Linked DNA regions of Homo sapiens: all the other regions are linked to region 1. The links are contacts of gene promoters, found by promoter capture Hi-C in blood cells and fetal thymus (Javierre and others, 2016). All regions are on one chromosome and are shown on one strand. The core of a region is centred on a gene start or on the middle of the fragment in contact, and the rest is flanking DNA. Distances in the headings are between cores, read along the strand shown. Region 1 holds the start of PLEKHD1 (pleckstrin homology and coiled-coil domain containing D1). Region 2 overlaps GALNT16-AS1 (GALNT16 and EXD2 antisense RNA 1). Region 3 overlaps EXD2 (exonuclease 3'-5' domain containing 2).

Region 1 (4,001 bases), core at 1,027-3,526:
CAGAGCATACATACTGCTCAGACTCTGATTGCATCGTTTCGGGTGGCTTTGGGGGCCACGGTAGTGGATGGAGGAGAAGATGGAGTCTCTGGGTGGGGGACACTAAACCTCTCCAAGCCTCCTTGGCACTACCATTGTGCTTTTAGCTGGGGGCCTATGCCCTGTACTCCTGACACTTCCTAGCCCTGGAATCAACTGTAGGTGCAGAGACCAGTTTCCCAATGTACCTGCAGTGGTGAAGGGGAGGACCAGGGGACATACCCTGGGGGTCACAAGCACCTAGCATTTTCTAGGGATGCTGTCAGGTGAAAATGTCTGGCAAGAGAAGTCTTGGTTGACAGGACCCAGAACAGCAGCCAGACCCAATAGAAAAGAAAGATTAACTATCTGGAGCTGCTGAGGCAGAAGAAAGATGGGTGGTGGGGGGAGATATTCTGCTAATTGTGCTTGAATCTACACACAGCCTTTCCACCCCAGCTCTCCTGGCCCTGGGGGCTGTAGCTCACATAGCACAATACTGGAAGCTCCCCAAATACACTCCATGTTGCTCCAAGCCTTCATTTAGGGGGTCAGAGATAAGCTGAACTTTGGAGGAACTCAAGAAGCCTGTATCCCATTAAATCCCAGAGAGAAACCTGTCAGAAGCAACAAAACAACATGAAACCAGAGATATAAAATGTGAGCTACTGTCCACAGCTCCATTTGTTCTGCGGTCTTATAGAAACATTAAATTATTCATCAGAACAGAACATCAGCACCCACCACTACCACATCCACATGATCTGTGGTCCTGGGAACATTGGAGGCCCCCTCTGCTCAGGGGCAGACTCATAGAGTGTGGGATGGGGAAGGGGCATCTGGATACCCCTGGTTTCCTGGAAGGGTCACACCTCCGCGGAAGGGCTGGACAGGGTCTGCATTCTCCAGGCCATACCAGTAGTGAATCTCAGAACTGAAATTGACTGGAGAGTGGAAACTGTCCAGAAAATGGCCCACAGCACCTGCAGCCAGTTGGGAGCTTCCTGCAAGTCCAGGGCTGTGAACTCCCTCTTCCCTCAATACCTCCCAGGCTAATTTGTAAGTGGAGAGTGGCTACCGATGTCCGCGGAGTCGCGTCTGAGTTGGGGACCAGGCAGCTGGGGCTGAAGGATGGTTGGGACTACCCTGTCTCTCTCCACCACCCCTTTCAGAGGATCAATCCTTGGCAGAACCAATCTATCCCCTCCTTCACTCCAGCTGCCTCCCTCCTTTCCAGCTCCTCCGTCTGAAGCACTAGAATCTCTCTTCCCTGTGCTCACTTTTAAAAAAATTATTTCAAGGGACAGTTGGAGGGGTTGCCAAGGTCACTTCCCCATGGACAAGCACCCTTCCTGGCCCTTCCTCCCTCCTTAGCCTGAGCCTTTCAGAAGGGCCAGGTCCCTCTCCGTCTTAAGGGTGGGTGGTTGGCGGGAGGGAGACACTCAGGCCCGGTCCTCGCGGCCTGGGTCAGGGGTTGTGAAGACGATGGAATTGACAGTGGGGGTCCCGGGGTTGGGGGCATCTTTGGCTAGAGATGGAGTTTCTGCCTCCCCTCAGTCTGGCCTGATCTGACCTAGCTGGGATCCCACCCCGACCACGGTCTCTTCTGCCCACACCCAACATTCCCACTCGAGGGTCAGGTTCATTCCATAGAGAATTTGCCACCGCCCCAGGGCAGGGGCCCCATCTCCATTCTCCCGGCCCAGACTATGGTCCACATTTTCCTGCGGGAGCCAGTGTAGAGTGAAAAGGGGTGACGCCAAGGTCACACAGGAAAGCAGAGGCACGACGGCGACTGGAGGGGGTGGGAGGGGTAACGACGCCCAGGCTCTCTCCCCGGCGGTCTCCTTGGGGCGCGGGGGCGCACTCACCGCCGGGACCACTTGGCCGACGGCCTGCCGAAAGGCCTCTTCCACAGCACGCCGTAGAGCTGCACTTTGGTGCTGATATCCAGGGCGTCCGAGTCAGCCTGCTCCAGGGACGGCGAGGGCGACACCGAGTTGGACTTGGACGTGAACATCCTGCCTCAGCGGGGCTGTGCCCGGCCCGGACCCCACCTCCCCGGGGTCAGCAGGGACTCGGGGCGAGAGGCGAGGGCGGAGCCGTCGGAGAGCGTCCCAGCGAGCAGAGAAGCAGAGCGGCCCGGCCCGGAGCTGCAGCATCAAAGCGCGCTGGGCACTGGACGCGGCACCAAGGGGGCGCAGGGCGCGTAGCCGGCGGCTTGGGCTCCGGATTGCAGAGGGCCGGGCGGGAACTCCGCGGGGAGGGTGGCTCAGCCTCGGGCCGGCAGCATCTCCTCCCCTCCCGCCCTAGCCACCCACCCCCCCGGCGACAGCCCCAATTCTGGTGGCCCCGATTGGCTGGGAGTGGCAGGTGAGCCGGCGGGAGGCCGGCCTCGGGCGCCAATCAGGGCGGGCGCCGGCTGGAGGGCCGGGCTCCGTGCGTCCAGAAGGTCCCTGCGGGTCGCAGGGCCCGGGGACTTGGCCGCAGCGCGTCCCCGTCCCCGCCCCGCGCGCCCAACACCACCCCGGGGTCCCTCTCGGCGAGCAGCGCCGACATCGAGACGAGGGCCACGTCCGCTTTGCAATGGGGTTGGAGGCACTCCTGCAGACACCTGCTCGCCTCGGGGTGGAGGAGAGGACGGAGCTAGGGCGTAGGGTCACACACTCCGGCCTGGAATTCCACCGCAATTCCTACCGCTCCGTGAACTGCGGCGGTCTGGCTTTTCTCCCCAGTGAAGTGGCGATGCCTGATGCCCCGGGCAGGCGGGTGGCCAGGTAGGACTTCAGGAAGTGCCCAAAGTGCCCGCATGGGGAGGGGCTCCATCAAGATTGGGTTCCCCCCAACCCTTCCCCCTCAGGTGGGTTTCACTGTGCTCCGCCGCCGCCGCCTAGCGCGCATCGGATCGGATTTCTCTTCCTGGAACCTGACCGTGTCTGTGTCGGCATTTGGCACTCAACGCCAGTCTGGAGCTATCCGTGCAGTGTGTGTCCGTGATTTATCTGCGCGCCTGGCCCGCGCTCCCTGGGACCAGCTGTTCCATCCGCTTCCGCTCCTTTCGGAGTTGGCGTTTGGGGTGACCGGCTCATTTTCAGGCCAGGGAGATGCCGGCCGGGCCCCAGGGGACCGCCTCCTCCCGGCAGGTGGAAATGCTAGGCTGGCACAGCTGCCTGCCCCGCGCCACCTGCCAGGCGTGGAGACCGCGCAGTGAGCGGCCGCCCGCCAGACCACGCCGCAGTCGCGCTTTTCCAAGATGAGGAGCCAAGGACGCCTCTGGAAGTCGGATTGCAACAGAAGTTTACAAATGGTTAGCCCGAGAGCCAGATCCACATTGCTTTATGAATTTGCCCCAAGTTTTTAAATTGAGGTATACTTCATGGTAAAATGCACACATCTAAGTTATTTCTTTGATGAAGGTATATAAGATGTAACCCCACCCAAAGCAACAGACAGAACATTTCCATCACCTGCAGAAAGTTTCTTCATGCCCCTTTATAGTCAATCAGCCCCCCAACAACAACCACTTGTATCATTCTTACCACCTCTGCACAGTAGACTTAAGTCTTTGAATGTAATGCCTAAAGGCGCATCCCCACAGGCCCCATCATCCCCTATTGTCTGACCTGCCTGGCCCCTCTGCAGGCATTTGGATGTGTGACGCCCACTAGATGTTCCCCAAGGCCATGCTAGATCTCCCCATTTTATGACTCTAGCTAATCATCACCCTGGTACTCTTCCCTTAACCCCCTCTGGGGTTCCCAAGCTCAGACAGCATCCCCTTGTTGCTCACTGTCAAGAAGTGCCCATCTGAATTCCTTGCACTTCTCTCATGGCTCAGGCCCCCATGCAGAACATCTCAGGCCAAGCCTTAACACAGGGCCCGGGGCTTGGCTCCATCAGGTGGGAGGAGGTGGGACTGGGAAGATGATGAGAGCCCGGGGCCAGAGTACAAAGTGGACATTTTCTGTATATTTTTTGTCTAT
Region 2 (4,002 bases), core at 644-3,143, 240 kb after region 1:
TAATGGGTGCTGGCCCATCACTTGTGTGTCCTATGTTCTCTATGCCCCTCCTCAGATTTCTGATCCCCCCCATTACCTGTTTCACCGACTTATGGCACTGCCACACTGCCAAGAATAGCCATCATCACTGAGGTCTGCTTCCTAGTCTGGAGCTCTCACTTGCCCCACAACCGAGATTGTTCGAGGTAGGAGCCTCTACCGTCCATTCACATACCCCATACCCTACATCTTTCCAGAATCAACACAGCCAATCTCCCCTTAGCAAGTAAAAAATATTCATGTCCTTCCTTTGTATGACCCCTTACTGGGAATCCAGAGATCATGATGCTTAGGTCTTGTAAGTGGTCTCCGTGGATAGGGTGGGAAGAGGCCACATTGGTCTTCTGAAGTCCTAACTCTCTTTGCTAAAAGATACTCTTTTGAAAATGGCTCTGCACGCTGCCCATGCTCAATCTGGGGTGTCCTGGCTGTGCTGGAGCACTGACTGCTGACCTCACATTGCAGGCCCCAGTGTTTGCCACTGCAATGAGCAGCCTCTCCTGCCTCCCCAGCTGCACACAGGCCCAGGTGGGGCTGGGCTGTCCCCAAGCAGGCCACGGGAAGGTGGAGGCAAGAAGATCATCGGGAAGCCATGACAGTCAGACAAGCAGCAGCAGATGGGGATGTGCACTGGGTGGAGTGGACAAATAGCACGAGGAAAATCAGCTTTGGGGACAGAAAAAGCCAAGTGGGAAGTGTAATAAATACTAAAACCAGAAAAGCCTGAAGACAGTCCATCTAGGGAGCAGCAGGAGGATGGCTAACATCACTGGAGTTTAGGTCGAAGGGGAGGACAGCAGGAGGGGTCGAGGTGGTCAGTATTCCAGGGGCTAGGGACAAGAGAAATGGCACAACATAAGTCTCTCGGGAAGGGTCACTCACCTTCCAAGCTGTTGGACTCATTGGCTGCCACAAGAAGAATCTATTTAAAACACACCAGGCATTTTGCCTCATTCTGTTTCCCTGCCCAGAAAAGGCTGGAGCCGAAGGCTGAGGGAGAGGGAAGGATTCCAGCATCAGGACCCTGCATGGATGACATGGCTGAGACCATTCAGGATGGGGAAGATCCCTGCTCCATCCTGAATGACCCACACTTACATCCCCCACCCCCACCTAAGCTGCCAGGCCACTAAACTCCTCGCATATTGAACACAGTCCCAAAGGCAGCTTGTGGTACCATTTCCACTGGGAAATACTCAATGGCTTCCTTCATCCTGTTTTCAAGCTTGTCAGAAAGCAGATGCTGCTCAAATCTGACAGCTGCTCTTAAGGGCACGCTCAAAGGGCACTCCCTGACCAGTGGGAATATTCTTAATGATGACTGAGAGGCCTTGGGTGTTTAGACTATGGCAAGACAAAGGAGCGAGCATGAAAGGGCATCAAGGGTAAAATGGCCCTAGGGAAACCATACGGGACTTGAATTGGAAAACACCAACAGCCTCGCTCCTTTCTCTGGACTGTGTATCTTTGGGAAGTTCTAATTTGGAGAAGACCTGACTCCTTATCCACCTGCCACAGAGAAAGTATTAATAAAATATGAGGCTAGGGTCTATGAGAAGTGGCCCAGGAAAGCCATCTATGCAAATTTTGTTTCCTTCCTACTTGAGAGGGTTGGGGATGAGAGGTCCTTCCTTCCCTGGCTCATAAGCCCATGAGTTGTGTAAAACACTGTTCAAGAAGGCAGAATATAAGCCCTCTGTTGTGCATGATATTCATATTCTTGAAAGAATTAGTGTATAAATCAAATTTTACCTGCCAGAGAAGCTGGCTTTTCAAAATAAATTTGAAGTCAATCCTATGTTTAAACAGAAGGATGGCTTGTAAAGGTGAATAACCATCCTAGGTCACAATTTGCAAATTGGGAACTCTGAATGTCTGACTTGGATGGTGGGGCAGGGGGTTCTGTCTAGAGATTAATCTATGGTTTGCTTTTAGGTTGCAACTAAGCATTACTTTAAAACAAACAAAAGACTGAGTTTTTAAAGAACATTTTTAATGGAAAATTTCAAATATATATATATATATATATAGAGAGAGAGGGGGCCCACTATGATAAACACACAGCTTCAGTGATTCTCAACCCATGGCCAATCCTGTGAGAAACATGAACTTTTGAACCAGCTGACAGATATAGAGGATGAACTTCGTGGTACAGAACAAAAAGAAGTAGTCCTACTCAGGCTGCAGTATCCAAAACGTTTCTGCATAAATGCCCTAAACTAGAGCCTAAAGTGTGAAACAAAGGGGTGGAGAATATTATTGGTTCGCGACCAAATAAGAAACCTGGGAATTAAAACACAAAACAAAACCACACACACATACAATCTCTCTGAGGGATGCAAATTAATAGTAACACTGGTTGCCTTCAAGGAGGGCAGAAAGACTGGAGCGATTTTCATTATATGTTTTTTAAAAATTTTATACTATGTGCACATTTTACCTATTTTTAAAAATTAACTTACTAAAAACAAACATGAAGCTTTGCAATAACCAAATCCACTAGATGTGACAAAAGGGAAAACTGTCTGGACTCAATATATAAGAGGACTTATATTCTGCCTTACTGAACAGTGTTTTACACAACTCATGGGCTTATGAGCCAGGGAAGGACGGACCTCTCATCCCCAACCCTCTCAAGTAGGAAGGAAACAAAATTTGCATGGATGGCTTTCCTGGGCCACTTCTCCTACACCCTAGCCTTATATTCTATTAATACTTTCTCTGTGGCAGGTGGATCTTCATCACATTTTGATCTGGATTTACTGTTTTATAGTAATTTTCTCAGCTAGAAGAATGCACAACCTTCCAATCCCAAAACGTACATCATTAGAATAGGTGCTTCACAAAATATTAAAAACACCAGCCCCTGGTGGTTATATGGATATATGCATTTGTCAAAATTCATTGAGTTGTATTCTTAGATGTGTGCACTTTATCATATGTTACTTATACTGCACTTTAATAAAGTATTGCTAAAAACAAAACAAAAAATCACAGTCCTTGTGGACAAATAAGCCAAAAAATCACCACTTAGAGGTTTGTTGGGTTGGTGGTTCAGAGAAAGCTGCTGTTATGAGGAAACATTATGTGGACTTTTTGCAAAAACTTACTCTTTGGAAACCACCACTACAGCATGTGCTTTTGGTTAAGCATTCCATGGCTGAAACGCAACTCTATGCTGAAATGCCGAGAGGATGAGGCAAAATCTTGGCCAAGGTCAAGTTCTGTTGATGGTCTGAGAGGGGGATGGCAGCCAAGTGCTCTGCACTTGTATAACATTTAAAAAAGAAAAACTAACCTAAGTCATCTTCTGTTCCTTTTTGTAGCCAACTTTAGTCCTGCTCATTGTGTCCAAGAACTCAGAGGCAGCCATATGTGCAACAGCTCAGGCTTACCAAACCTCCAGGGCCAAACATACATATCGTGATTAAAAAGAAACGAAGCCAGCCAACAGGGCTTTAGTTGATTCCATGGGATATAAGGAGAAATTTCAGAATTTTAGATAAAGTTAGGGTCCATCGAGGAGAGGGCAGAGAAATGTAGTTGAGCTTCCTGTTTGGCTAGCTGCCTACTTTTTCTGAAACAAACAACAAAAGGACCCCAATTTGGTAAAAGCAGGGGCTCATGTCTAGATCTAGGTGATTATTGTGGAAAGAGCTCCAAGATGAACACATTTGATACAAATCTGTGTTACACAATGAAAAGCCAATCCACTTTGGGACTGAAACTAAGCACAAGGATGGACTAGAAATTGTATTTTCTGTCAGGTCATAGGGGATGGAGATATAGAAAGAAATGTCTTCAGCAGCTTATAAAATGCAAACTTTACATTTTGCACATGTCTGTCTAGCTGATGCCCAGGCAAAGGCAAAGGCAAGCAGGACAAAGTCCAAGGCATGTCAGGGTTATACAAAACAGGCTCCGGAGATGCTTCCCTGTCTCCCTGTGAGTTCTTCATGTCTT
Region 3 (3,616 bases), core at 1,089-3,588, 250 kb after region 1:
TAAAATAGCTAAAATAATGACTTACTCTAAATGCTGGAAAATCCTCACCTATATAAATCAGTGAAGTTTCTATCTACTACCAAATTGCTGGACAGATTTCTCTCAAGTTTGGGGGAAGGGTAGTTAACAAAGGCCTGATAACTAGTACATGAAATTCACTTTGGAGGCAGTCATCCTCTGGAATGGCTGAAATCATGATTCATTAAGAGGCCTGTGTGACTGTCAATCAGAAATGAACTGCCATATCTATTAATATGATATTGAAAACAAAAAAAACAAATAGGTTTCAAACATGGGCCTCAAATCAAAGTCACAGGGCCCATTCCTGGAATTTACTTATTTAATAGTGGTAAGTCATTCTCCTAAGCAACTGGTGATAGGCAAGCTGGTCATAAAGAAAAGTACTGTGGGCCAGGTATGGTGGCTCACACCTGTAATCCCAGCACTTTAGGAGGCCAAGGCGAACAGATCACCTGAGGTCAGGAGTTCGAAACCAGCCTGGCCAACATGGTGAAACCCTGTCTCTACTAAAAATACAAAAATTAGCTGGGTGTGGTGGTGGACGCCTGTAATCCCAGCTACTCAGGAGGCCTAAGGCAGGAGAATCGCTTGAACCCAGGAGACGAAGATTGCAGTGAGCTGAGACCGTGCCACTGCACTCCAGCCTAGGAGACAGAACAGGACTCTATCTCAAAAAAAAAAAAAAAAAAAGTAGCGTGGTCAAAACTAAAATTCGGCTGGGTGTGGTGGCTCACGCTTGTAATCCCAACACTTTGGGAGGCTGAGGCGGGTAGATCACTTGAGGTCAGGAATTTGAGACCAGCGCAGCCAACATGGGGAAACCCCATCTCTACTAAAAATAAAAAAAATCAGCTGGGCGCGGTGGCACGCGCCTGTAATCCCATCTACTCGGAAGGCTGAGGCAGGAGAATCGCTTGAACCTGGGGCTTGAACCCAGGAGGCAGAAGTTGCAGTGAGCTGAGATCGCACCACTGCACTCCAGCCTGAGCGACAGAGTGGGACTCCATCTCAAAATAAATAAATAAATTAATTAAATTAAATTTAAAAAAAAAACTAAAATTTTAAAAAAACTAAAATTAATAGCTTTTCCCAACAAAAAGTGTAAGGACTTTAAAATTCTATTATTTCACCTTTAATAACCAAGCCAGTGAATAATTCTATTAGTAAGGATCATTTATACTTTTAGAGTAAAACAAGTTTGGATAAAATTTTCCACCTAGATCCAACAATCTACATATCTATTAGCAGACTGTTTCCCACAGAAGAATGTGTGCTTGAATGAGAAGACTTTAGAGTTCCCTCTAACACATTATTTTCTAATGATAAAGAAACAAATGGTACTAGGATGACTGGAGGTCCACATGCAAAAGAGTGAATGTGGACCCCTACCTCACAAGACACACAAAAATTAACTCAAAATGGATCACAGACTTAAATGCAAGAGCTAAAACTATATGACTTTTAGAAGAAAATATAGGAGCCAATCATCATGACCTTGGGTGAGGCAATGATTTCTTGACTATGACACCAAAAGCATAAGCAATTAAAGGAAGAGATTTTTAAAAAGAAACTGATAACTGGAGCTCATCAAAATTAAAAACTATTGTGCTTCAAACAACCAATGGTAGAAAATACTTTATAGATCATCTATCTGAAAAGGATCTAGAGTATACAAAGAATTCCTAAAACTCAAAAATAAAATAACAAATGACCCAATTAAAACATGGGCAAAGGATATGTATGAATAGACATTTCTCCACGGAAGATATACAAATGGCCAATACCCACATGAACAGATGCCCAGCATCATTAGTCACAAGGGAAATGTAAATCAAAACCACAATGAAATACCGCTTCACACCTACTAGGATGGCTCTAATGGAAAAGACTGACAATAACAAATGTCAGCAAGGATGCAGAACCCCGACACCCTCATACACTGCTGGTGGGAATACAAAATGGTGTAGCTACTTTGGAAACCAGTTAACATTTCTCAAGGATGAACAAGTGGTAACTGACTTGGCAAGCAAGGTTGAAACTAGGCCTATGCAAGTGGTATGGCAAAAAGCCTAAGTTCAAATGAGTTTGAGCCACAGAGACCAGGAAAGCATAAGGAATGGAGACACCAGGTATCTGTGAAGGCAAGGGCGGAAACAGAAGGATAAGGTGAAATCTCTATAGAGAACACTTACACCCTGATCTCCTCCTTTACAGCACAGGGCCAGACAACTATCCCTCCCCTAGCCCAAAAGACAGTAAAAGTTTAAATCATATAATGGTTAAACCACAGAGGATCTGGACCTGGTAATACCAGGCAAAACTGAAGGGAGGGACAAAATGTCACCTGAAGAAAGGGGGATTAAGGGAGAGATTACACATTGAATGTTAAAACCACTGGCACCTTTCCCCCACTCAGTGACTGGAATATAGGCAGTGGGACTTACACTTCTTGAATAGAATACTAGAAGATTCATCTGTGGAGAAACTAAGTCACCTGAGAGAAAAGACAGTTACTGACTTTTTTTTTTTTTTTTTTTTTTTTTTTACTGCTCATGCTCCCTTTCTCAAGAAACTGTTATGAATGTACTCCACCAAGGCAAGAAAGGAAGAAGACATGGAATTTAAAAAACAGAGGATCTACTATGAAAGAGAAAGGTGAAGGGAATTCCAGGCTGATGGTAAATGCAAATTCCAGGATGAGAGTTGGGCAGCAGGCCTAGAGTGCACTCCGTCCTGGGAGGAGCCAGATGATAGAGGGCTCTAGGAGAGAAGGCTCCAAGGGAAAATGAAACAAGTAAGTGACCTGACGTGTGTCTGAACCAGCCCAGAGGAGATCCATAGTTCTGATAAGGAGTCTGGGGTGGAAATAATAGGTACATGGAACACTATGCAAACAAAATACTAATTATTAATCCTGGGAAATAAAAGTAACTGCAGTTTACTATGTGACTCAGCTATAAATAATATAAATACTGTATATTAACCTGATAAAAATGATGATTTACCTAAATTGGGAGGATGGGGAAGAGAAGTATTTGTCCGGGGACAGGGGAGCTGCAAGAGTACTAAACCGTATCTCCCACAGTATGATGTCAAAAGATAATATAAATAAATAAGAAAGAATAACGCATGCATGTAATTTAGAAGTATAATGATAATTACCAGAAAGAAATGAAAGTGGTTGCCTCTGAGGAGAAGAAGGAAGAAGGATTAGGAATGGGGAAAGGTAATGCAGGGAACTACTTACTGCTTCTTAAAATAAGTTATAACTCCTACACACTTATAACACTATATTTTTTTTAAATTATACATTTGTATTCATAAAAAAAATCCCTTTTTCTGAAATGCCCAACATATAGTAAATGCTCAAAAAAAATCAGGACTCTTGGCCAGGCTCGGTAGCTCACACCTGGAGGTTGAGGTGGGTGGATCACTTGAGGTCAGAAGTTCGAGACCAGCCTGACCAACGTGGTGAAACCCCATCTCTACTGAAAATCTAAAAATATTAGCCAGGCATGGTGGTGCACATCTGTAATCTCAGCTACTCAGGAGGCTGAGGCAGGAGAATTGCTTGAACCCAGGAGGCAGAGGTTGC

What was found. Contacts are between HindIII fragments. The CHiCAGO score rates a contact against its expected background, and 5 or more counts as called.
Region 2: a fragment that was not itself captured here is called in contact with the fragment with the promoter of PLEKHD1 in region 1 in 7 of 17 cell types (M1 macrophages, M0 macrophages, megakaryocytes and 4 more); the score reaches 9.2 in M1 macrophages.
Region 3: a contact is called between a fragment that was not itself captured here and the fragment with the promoter of PLEKHD1 in region 1, in 1 of 17 cell types (M0 macrophages). The highest score is 5.1, in M0 macrophages.

Annotation. Positions count from the first base shown.
Region 1 is chr14:69,483,003-69,487,003 of GRCh38, reverse strand. It overlaps PLEKHD1 (pleckstrin homology and coiled-coil domain containing D1), which reads right to left and starts at 2,276. Exons shown (of 13, transcript NM_001161498.2): 1 at 1,890-2,276. The coding sequence starts at 2,038. The HindIII fragment of the contact is 7,160 bases long and covers 1-4,001 here.
Region 2 is chr14:69,247,133-69,251,134 of GRCh38, reverse strand. The region is part of intron 2 of GALNT16-AS1 (GALNT16 and EXD2 antisense RNA 1); the gene reads left to right. Among named protein-coding and RNA genes, the nearest start is that of GALNT16, 11 kb to the left of the region's middle. The HindIII fragment of the contact is 1,254 bases long and covers 1,267-2,520 here.
Region 3 is chr14:69,230,860-69,234,475 of GRCh38, reverse strand. All of the region lies in intron 5 of EXD2 (exonuclease 3'-5' domain containing 2), which reads right to left. The region is part of intron 2 of GALNT16-AS1 (GALNT16 and EXD2 antisense RNA 1); the gene reads left to right. Among named protein-coding and RNA genes, the nearest start is that of GALNT16, 27 kb to the left of the region's middle. The HindIII fragment of the contact is 6,270 bases long and covers 1-3,616 here.